Linked DNA regions of Homo sapiens: region 2 is linked to region 1. The links are contacts of gene promoters, found by promoter capture Hi-C in human tissues and cell types (Jung and others, 2019). All regions are on one chromosome and are shown on one strand. Each heading gives the region's core, a stretch centred on a gene start or on the middle of the fragment in contact. The rest is flanking DNA. Distances are from core to core; before and after follow the strand shown. Region 1 holds the start of CNBD1 (cyclic nucleotide binding domain containing 1). Region 2 has its middle 460 kb from the start of DCAF4L2.

Region 1 (5,479 bases), core at 31-2,530:
TGCCTGCTTGGTTGGTCATCGCTGCTGCTCAAACCCTGTGGGGAGGGGGAGCACACAGACGGACAGGTGCAGGAGCCCAAGTGGGCATTGTGTTGCAGTGTGCCCTTGTAGCCCTACCCTCCATGGATGGCTTGATGTTAACAAGCTCAATGGACCCTCTGCCTTTTCACAAGGGTAGAGGGCCAGTGTGATAGCTTTCTGTATCCTGAATTCTTGCCCAGCATCCCAGAAGTACTGGGTCACACATGGGCTTGAAGGAAGAACTCAGGGTTTTATTGAGTGGTGGAGGTGGCTCTCAGCAGGATGGATGGGGAGCTGGAAGGGGGATGGAGTGGGAAAATGATCTTCCCCTGGAGTTTGGCCGTACAGTGGCTGAACTCCTCTCAGTGTTCAGATGTTCCTCCTTTTCTCACTTTCTCTGCCTGTCATTCTGCCATTCATCTATTTGTCTCATCTCTTCGTCTGCTTCTGGAGCCTGGGATTCAGGGTTTATATGGGTACAGGATAGGGTGTGTTGCAGGCCAAAAGGCAACTTTTTAGGTGCAAAAACAGGAATGCCTGTCCCAATCTAGGGCCGCAGGTCTCCAGGCTTGAGGGTGGGGCCTTTACTGGGGAACTGCCCTCTTCTACCCAGTGTTTCCCTGTCTCCTGTCCGTATCACTCTAACAGTTATGATACCAGGACCCTATTTCTAAAGGCCTTGGAAGATAATACACAGCATCAAAAGATACATTAGTTAGGATTGTAAACCCTAGCCATTGTAACTATCCTTAATTATTGTGAAGCAGCAGAAAATAACAAAAAAACATGTTCCACACTCTAGCAGAATATAGTTAAATGTAAGCTGGGGTGGGTTTATTGGTGTATGATAATTAGAAGGGATGGTTTACCCTATAAATGTGGCCATGAAGAACAGTATAAATATGCTATCTCTGTTACTGCTGGTACAGAAAGGGCCTGTGATACCCAGTGTAAACATTTGGTAGGCAGGAAAAGGGCTCTGGACTATGGAAGACCAAGGAAGTGAATACTTTCATTTCACCTAGACTCATGAGTGCTGTTGATTCTGCTGTATCAGCCTTGTGGGCTACAGTTTCCTTCTTCATTATTGCTACTCTCTATAGCTCATAAAGTCCTCCTTATGATTTCCACTGGACTAAAATGTAGCATAGTTCTTCCTGGTCTAGATGACACTCTTGGAAATGCACAAACAATGGATAAGAACTATGAACAAGAAGATTCCGTAGGATTCAACCTATCAGAGAGGACCTTGAAGTTCTGCTTTATGAGCCTGCAGGCAAAGAGTGATCATTTGCCTCTCAAGCAGCCTCTGGTCATCTATCTGCCTTTGAGCCATCAAGATGCCGATGTCTTCTCTTCCAGCAGCTATTTTGTCTCACATGACAGCTATTAACAATGTGCCTCCTCCTCCACTTCACAGTATACCAAGTGAGTGGGAAATACTTTGATGCTCTTATTCACCTACCATTGTTTTCAGCGGTTCTTACCCCAGCTATGAAAATTGGGGGTATTTCAGGGTTGATAGGGACATTGGGAATCTTATTGACAGTGCTGAAGAATGGAAAGAACATAGATGTGTAAATCCTGCTTGGTCTACTTGAAGTCATTTCAGTACTCTAGGTCTTAAGTATTTTTTCTCTGTAAAATGAGGATCTTTACGAACTCTTAGAGCTTCAGATACATTGAAATATTTCTAAAGATGAAAGAAAACAAAGATTTAGAGAGGCCACATGTTCCACCAGCTATCAGGTTCCTTTTTCTAGCAGATCTTCTACTCCCTACCAAGAGTTGGTCCTACTACGCTTAATGGGATAATTAATACTTAATATTCTCTAGGAGAATTCTCATTTCAATTTGACAAGGAAAAAAAGATAATTCCTACTATTCTGACTGTGAAATTTATTCCTATTTAACTTTTTTATTTTCTAGTCTTACTTATAAGAATTAAGTATAGAACTAGATATTTCAAAGTTTATATAATTGACAGTATTTTCTCATTTTATGTAATTAGTCTAAACCTATAACGTTTTCTTAAGATTGTAAACACTTCTCATGGCCATCGAATTTATAAGATCTATTATTTGAACACCATCATTCTGACTAGCAATATGTATGAGTTCCAGTGTTAGTTAAGATTTTTAAAAAATATCTGGATAACAAAGGTAATACTTGTGATCCTTTTCAACTTCAATAAAGCATTAACTCTTATTTTATTATTCATTGGGCAGATTTATAGTATTGATTTGAAGAAGCTAAGCCATCCATCCTTTTCCCTTCCTGTGAAAGTTAATTTCTCCAAATACATTTTAAAAAATTAATGCTCATAGTCTCCAGGTTAAAAGGTATAACAGGTGGCAGTTGATACTCCTTGAAGGGGTACACTGATGTCTTGAATAGTGTTAGACAAAATCCTTATGTTAAACAAAATTAATTCCATTTGTATTATAGTGAAAATAATCTTGCATCTGGTCAAAGTTTTCTATTTCTACTTGAGTGGAAATAAGAATTAAGTGCAATTTTGCTGAAGAAACACAGCTTCTACTATTCATGTTTTATTTGTGAAAAAGAAAATAAAAGTCACCATAAAATAATATTTTTAAAAAGCCCAGGAAACTCGGTAGCTGGGAGTTAAAAGATCAAATTAATTTAGAATCAATGAGATGAGATTTGTGCTACCCTCTGTAGTGCCTCCCAAGGACACTTAACTTCTGTGAAGTGATTAAAAGACGAAAAATCAGCAGCAATTTAGATCTCAGAACTGAATAGAGCATAATGGAAAGCGGTGGAGCTCCCAGTGTTCCTTTAGAGGTTCGCACTTGATGTTTCTATGTCTGCAACTTCTCTTTGAGGACGTGCCCTGCTTGCCTTAATAACTGTGTCTTTTTGCTAACTGTAGCAAGACAATAATTTTCCTTAGCAAGCACTGATTGTCTCACTGCTGAAACAATGATCTCATGGAAGCCAATGTGTAATGAATGCTTTCAATTTATGAAATGACTGAACCTGAATTACAAAGGATATATAAATGAGTTTTAAATGCAGTGGGCATAAATAGGAATGCACATTTACATACCTAAAAAGAAAATCCAGCCATTGTATACATCCTTGATACTTTGTATTTGTTGAGTTAGGTTGGATTTAGTGACTCATATTCACCTTCTCTGTAAGTATTTATTTATTTATTTATTCATTTTTATTTATTTTTGAGATGAAGTCTTGCTCTGTTGCCCAGGCTGGAGTGCAGTGGCACGATCTCAGCTCACCACAACCTCCGCCTCCTGGGTTCAAGCGATTATCCTGCCTCAGCCTCTTGAGTAGCTGGGACTACAGGTGTGCCTGGCTAATTTTTGTATTTTTAGTAGAGATGGGGTTTCACTGTGTTGGCCAGGCTGGTCTCTATCTCCTCACCTCGTGATCTGCCCCCCTCAGCCTCCCAAAGTGCTAGGATTTACAGGCGTGAGCTACCACGCCCCGGCTGTCTGTATTTATATGTGAATATTGTTAATTGAGTGCTTTCTGTAGTTAGTATGTAAACATTTAGCACGTTATGTTATTTCATGTATTTCTTACAAGAACTCTATGTCTTCGGTGGACAGAATTAACGGTCCCAGTGATATCCATGCCTTAATTCACAAAACTTATGAATAGGTTATACTACATGTTAGGGGGAATTGAGGCTGCACATGCAATTAAAGCAGCTAATTGGCTCCACTTGAGATGGGAGAATATTCCGGTTTGTCTGGGTACCAGCCACAATTGTGAGAGCCCTTATAAGCAAAAGAGGAAGGCGAGAGAGTCAGAATGATATGTGAGAAAGACTCGACTGGCCCTTGCTGGCTTTGAAGATGGAGGGGGGACAAAAGCCAAGGAATTCAGGCAGCCTCTAGAAGCAGGGAAAGGCAAAGAAATGGATTCTCCCCTAGCGTCTCCAGAAGAATTGCAGTCCTGCTGATGTGATTTTAGCCCAGTGAAATCAGGTTCAGAGTTCTCATTTCCAGAACTGTTAGATAATACGTTTTTATTTTTTTAAGCCACTAAGGCAGTGGCAATCTTTTACAGCAGCAATATAAAATTAATACGTGTTCCAGTTTACACTTAAGGATAATAAGGCTTAGGTTTCATACTAAGGTTCACACAGATGTTAAGTAGCAGAGGCTCCTCGTAGCGTCATCTGTGTAAACAAACTCTACTCACAACAACAACAAAGCTGGCAGCATTCCGGGTTGCCCCTTACCTCCTGCCCTGAATTTCTTGCCCATTTGGCTACTTAAATGCTATTAATATATGGGAGGCAACATGTCACACATCTTCAAACCCTCCTCCACTGCTATCTTGTTGACTCTGAAATTCAGACTCAGACACTTCAAGTAGTTAAGCTTCTTGAGCTAGTTTGCTGCTTGTGGTTCTTTCTTCTTTGAAACTTTCAAGTCTTTTCCTTCTCTGGTCTCTTTGACTTCTGTCTCAGGATTCTTCACAGTTTGCTAACCTTAAGGGAGGAATGAATGTTCTCAAAAGCAGAAGAGCTGTTCCACTTTTCATTCTGGATGAGAATTATTTTAAAAACATCATAGCTAACAAACTGTACAGTTTTACCACCTAAGTGAAATGGCATCTGGTTTAAGTACACACATGACCCATTATTTTTATAAGTTGATTTCCTGAAGAGATAGAAAAAAAGAAAAAAAAATTCTTATTTTAAAAAATTTTTAATGGAAGGCAAGAAGCTGTCCTTCACCGTTTGGTTTATGGTCCAGTTAACTTCCTTTGTTGGGATAAATTTGCTGCTACTCTATTTTCTTCACACTAATTAGGCTTATTCTTCTGAGGAAGAATGGGTTTAAAAATATGCTTTACATTTTGACTACTGGTTGACTTGAAAAAAAAATTTCTGTGCTTTTCCAGTTCCAAAAATGTTTTAATTCACCAGACATTTCTAGGTATCTTTCATTTATTCCAACATATGAGTTGGAAAAAAAAAAGCATTCAAGATAAGACCAGAGACACATCAAGAAATTTAGAAACAAGATAGTACTCTTTTTTTTTTTTTTTCTGAGACGGAATCTCGCTCTGTCGCCCAGGCTGGAGTGCAGTGGCGTGATTTCATTTCACTGCAAACTCTGCCTCCTGAGTTCACGCCATTCTCCTGCCTCAGTCTCCTGAATATCTGGGACTACAGTATATGTTAGTCGCAGCCACGCCTGGCTAATTTTTTTGTATTTTTTTAGTAGAGACGGGCTTTCACCGTGTTGGCCAGAATGGTCTCGATCTCCTGACCTCGTGATCCACCCGCCTCGGCCTCTCAAAGTGCTGGGATTACAGATGTGAGCCACCGCGCCTGGCCAACACGATAGTACTCTTAAGCGAATGTTTTTCTTCGCTCTTTTTCATTTTATGGCTTTACATTTACTGCAAATCTGAAAACACTGTGTCATCATTCCTAAGCGTTCAAAGGCGTTTT
Region 2 (5,208 bases), core at 2,191-4,690, 550 kb after region 1:
TCTTATTAATCCCACCTATCAAGTTCTTCATTTCTGTTGCTTTATTTTTAGATACATATATGTGTGTGTGTGTGTGTATAGACAGATAATATTTAATTTTTTAAACTAACAAGTGAAATAACAGAATTCCAACTCACATTACTTAAACTTGATATTCTATTTAATTGAGTCATCTTTATGAACTATTTTTAAGGACTTTGGGCTGCTTTTTTCTTTTCGTCTCTCAGTATTTATGATAGTGTAGGCATACTTGTACTCATTCCTCAGTTTATCGTGCTTCATTATATCATGCTTCACAGATGTTGCATTTTTAAAACAAATTAGAGGTTGGTGACAGCCCTGCATCAAGGAAGTTTATCAGCACAAGTTTTCCAAAGTATATGCTAATTTTGTGTCTCCGTGTCACATGTTAGTAATTCTCTCAGTAGCTCAAACTTCTCATTATTATTACATCTTTTATCGTGATCTGGGATTAGTGATCTTTGATGTTACTATTGTAATTGTTTTGGGATGCAATGACCTGCATCCATATAAGACTGCAAACCTAATCAATAAATGTATGTGTTTTGACTCCCTCACCAGTTTGTCATTCCCCCATCTCTCTCTCTCTCCTCAGACCTACGTGTTCCCTAAGGCCCGACAAAATTCAAATTAGGCCAATTAATAACCATACAGTGGCCTCTTAAGTTTTCAAGTGAAAGGAAGGGTTGCATTTCTTTTACTTTAAATCAAAATGTAGAAATGATTAAGCTTAATGAGGAAGGCATGTCGAAAGCTGAGAAAGGCTGAAAGCTTTTAGCTAAATAGTAGCCATGTTTTGAATGCAAAGGAGAAGTTCTTGAAGAAAATTAAAAAGTTTTACTCCGGTAAACATGCAAATAATAAGAAAGCAACAGTTCTTACTGCTGATACAGAGAAAGCTTTAGTGGTCTGAATAGAAGATCAAATAAGCCACAACACTCCCTCAAGCCTCAGCATCTAGAGCAAGGTCCTAACTGTTCAATTCTATAAAGGCTGAGAGATGAGGAAGCTGCAGAAATTTGAAAGCTAACAGAGGTTTGTTCATGAGCTTTAAGGAAAGAAGCCATCTCCATAACATAAAACTGTAAGGTGAAGCAGCAAGTGCTGATGTAGATGCTGCAGCAAATTATCCAGGAGATATAACTAAGATCTTTGATTAAAATAGCTACAGTAAACAATAGACAAAACAGCCCAATTTTGGAAGCATATGCCATCTTCAACTTTCATAGCAGGAGAAGAGAAGTCAATGCCTGGTTTCAAAGCTTCAAATAATAGGCAGACTCTCCTGTTAGGGCCTAATAAAGCTGATGACTTCAAGTTGAAGCTAATCCTCATTTACCACTCTGAAAACCCAGGGGCTTAAGAATTAAGCTAAGGAATTAATTTGGCTGGGTGTGGTGGCTCATGCCTGTAATCCTAGCACTTTGGGAGGCTGAAGCGGGAGGATTGCCAGATCTCAGGAATTCCAGACCAGCCTGTGCAACACAGTGAAACCCCATCTCTACTAAAATAGAAAAAATTAGCCTGGTGTGGTGGTGTGTACCTGTAGTCCCAGCTACTCAGGAGGCTGAGGCAGGAGAATCGCTTGAACCCAGGAGAGGGAGGTTGTAGTGAGCCGAGATAGTGCCACTGCACTCCAGCCTGGGTGACAGAGCGAGACTCTGTTTCAAAAAAAAAAAGAATTAAGTTAAATTTATTCTTCCTGTACTACATAAATGGAACATAAAAGCCTGGATGACAGCCCATCTGTTTATAGCATGGTTCACTGAATATTTTAAGCCCAGAATTGAGACCTACTGCTCAGAAGAAAAGATTCATTTACAATGCACATAGTCAACCAAGAGCTCTGATGGAGATCCACATGCCTGCTACCACAACATTTATTCTATAGCCCAAGGATTGAAAAGTAATTTCGATTTTCAAGTCATATTATTTAAAAAATACATTTCATTAGGATATAGCTCCCATAGATAGTGATTCCTCTGATGGTTCTGAGCAAAGCAAATGAAAATCTTCTATAAAGAATTTACTATTCTGGATGCCATTAAGAATGTGGTGATTCATGGGAGGAGGCTGATATGTCAACATTAACAGGAGTAACTAAATTGCTGCAATTTCATAATAAAATTTGAATGCATGAGGTGATGCTTCTTATAAATAAGCAAAGAAAGTGGTTTCTTGAGATACATCACCTCCTGGTGAAGATGATGTGAACATTGTTGAAATCACAACAAAAAATTTAGAATATTACATAAACTTAGTGAAGCAATGACAGGATTTGAGAGGATTGACTGACAGGATTTGGGAGGATTGACTGCAGTTTTAAAAGAAGTTCTACTGTGGGTAAAATGCCATCAAACAGCATTGCTGCTACAGAGGAATCTTTTGTGAAAGGAAGAGTCAGCTGATGAGCAAATTTCATTGTTGCATTGTTGTCGTATTTTGAGAAACTGCCACAGCCACCCCAACTATTAGCAACTACCACCCTGATAAATCTGCAGCTGTTCACATCAAGGAAAGACCCTCCATCTGCAAAAAGATTATGACTCACTGAAAGCTCGGATGATTGTTAGCATTTTTTTAGCAAGAAAGTATTTTTTAATTGGTGTATGTACATTTTTTAGATATACTGCTATTGCACTTAATAGTCTATACACTGCAGTATTGTTTAAACATAACTTTTATATGCTTTGGGAAACCAAAATTTGTGTGACTCGCTTTATTATGATACTTGGGGGTCTGGAACAAAACCAGCAATAACTCCAGAAATACAAGTATGCTTGCATTTTTCATATTTCATTTCATTATTGCTTTACTTACCTGTCTCTAAGAATAGAGTGTATAGCCATCCAAGGTCAGAGGCTGTGTTTTATTTATCCTCATTTCTGGCATATAGTTGAAGCTAAACATATTTACAGAGTGAATAAACAACAGGATTTCTTACAACCCTATGTTTAACTTGTGATTCACCACAAAAGTCCACTTTTTTGCTTTCTATAGCTTTGCCCAAGCATTTCATAGGCAGGATTAACCTAGCTATATCATATATATATATATATATATATATATATATTTCATTCACACATATTTTTAAAAACTCATTCTACATTATCCTCCAAACATTGTATTATTGCCAAAAGTTGTTGATTCATATCCAACCAATTAAGCCATTTCTTGGAAATATGTTAAGTACAGTTAATGATGTCACTTATTAAAATTAAATTTATTGAAGTTTTATGTATATCCATTTATTGACAGTTTTGTAGTCTTTTCTGGCATAAGACATGTGTTGGGCTTTTTTAGATTTTTTTTTTTTACAACCATTACTATAATAATTGTATTACACCCATTGATGTTTTGTAAATTTTCACCACCAAGTTATGTACTGAAAGGGTTCATGTAAGTTCATTGTATTTTTTCATTAAGACAACAATAATATTGATATGATAAATGCCATCTTAGTGACATTCTGATATCATTTTTCAATAATAATATAATAAGTGACCATGAAGGGAATAGAAACCTAAACAATATTATTGTTTAAACAGTAAGCAATTTGTTTAAAAAAGTTTTGCTTGTACGGGAGAAGTGTTTGACATAGCTTTTTTTGTTTTTCTTATTACTACAACTGAATGAAATTTTCTAGGGATTACCTTGACATTCATTAGTGCTTTTGGGGCACAAATACCCTTTTTTGATAATCAGGAATTACTTAGTATCTCAGATTTATAATGCTAAAGTGTTTAGAAAAAAATTAAGGAACCTGAGTTTTTTTCATTTTTCACTTCAAATTAAGATGCTGTTCTCCTTCATTTTGTCTGCTTAAGGCAAACTTGGAAAATGCTAATCATTTATGTATGTAATCTCCATCATCATCTAACATCCAAATCCTTGATATATCATGTGTTTTGGTATGTGTTTTCCTTCTAAATGTTAAAACTAAGATGAAATGACATCTGTACTCAAAGCAAAATATAAAATTAACAAAAACAGAACAGTAATACTATGTCAATATATCACTTCTGGTTACTCGATATGACCAGGATTTGCTTCTCAAATGTCAGAATAAAAGAAATGTGCCTATCATGTGCAAGTGATTTTATTAAAACATGCCTATGTGTTCATGCTTTTGAAAGACACTCACCCACATGGTCCCTGTTCAAATAATTATTTCCCGAATGCACATGAGGCTAAATTTCACCAAGAAAAATCACCAAGAGAAATAGGAACTTCACTATGCTAATAGACACTATGTTTTCACATTTGTGTTTCTTGTGTTAAGCAAAAAGTGGCTGAGACAGGTGTCTCAATTGATAGATGTTTATTTAGCTAAAGTTTGAGGACTCATCCAGGAAAAACATAGTCACAGGAGCCTCTGTGACATGTACTTTTCCGAAGAAGATTTGAGGAACTTCAGTATTTAAAGGGGAAACATCAAGAAGAGGAGAAAAGAGGGAGGTAGGTTAGGCAGTGATGTAAATGATTACATTCTTGTGAGGCTCTTATATAAGACAAGGTAAACATGCGAAAAGAAGGAATAGAGAAAAAGTCAATTATGAATTTGTCTCAGGGTAGGTGGAGGGATGATTTCTGGTCCTGTCCTTGTCCTGTACCTGTGAAGATAAGCTAGTAATTGATATCTTCAGGGCGAGATACAACAGAACTCGGGTTTAGGTCTAGAATATAGGAGGGTATGTATTCTAAAAGATTTAGGGGCTCACAAGGGGCTCTCAATTGTACCTAGTGAACGATTTGTGAGAGAGACCATGTGAGGAGATATGCGGCCTTATATCCTTGTGGGAACGTGGCTTGTGGATGAGGCTATGACACAGGGTTGTGAAATTACAGCTATCTGGGAACAAAAGGAAGGCAGTATTGTGTGACTCATTTTCCAAGCTTAACTTTCCCTTTTGCATAGTGAGTTTTGGGGTCCCAAGATTCTATTTTTTCACACTTACTACTTTAAATTTCTATAGTTGTGTTTTAAAATGATTCAAGTCTTCATCCACTTAAAATATTGTTTAACTTTTAACACCTAGTGTCATTTTGCTTCAGGTATTTACCTTGGTAGATTTAATACTATGACTCAATTAAATCCCTTGAAGTTTAATTGGTGAGCCTAAAGAGCTTAGCCACTGAAGGCAAAAATGCTTAAGATATTATTATATTTACCAAGTGTTCCAAATT

Evidence for each region. Contacts are between HindIII fragments. The study calls those that stand out against the background at their distance.
Region 2: a contact is called between a fragment that was not itself captured here and the fragment with the promoter of CNBD1 in region 1, in 2 of the 25 tissues and cell types used here (H1 embryonic stem cells and mesenchymal stem cells).

Annotation. Positions count from the first base shown.
Region 1 is chr8:86,865,135-86,870,613 of GRCh38, forward strand. CNBD1 (cyclic nucleotide binding domain containing 1) reads left to right here and starts at 1,281. Exons shown (of 11, transcript NM_173538.3): 1 at 1,281-1,449. The coding sequence starts at 1,362. The HindIII fragment of the contact is 15,353 bases long and covers 1-5,479 here.
Region 2 is chr8:87,408,334-87,413,541 of GRCh38, forward strand. It overlaps a transcript of CNBD1 not described here. Among named protein-coding and RNA genes, the nearest start is that of DCAF4L2, 460 kb to the right of the region's middle. The HindIII fragment of the contact is 5,338 bases long and covers 772-5,208 here.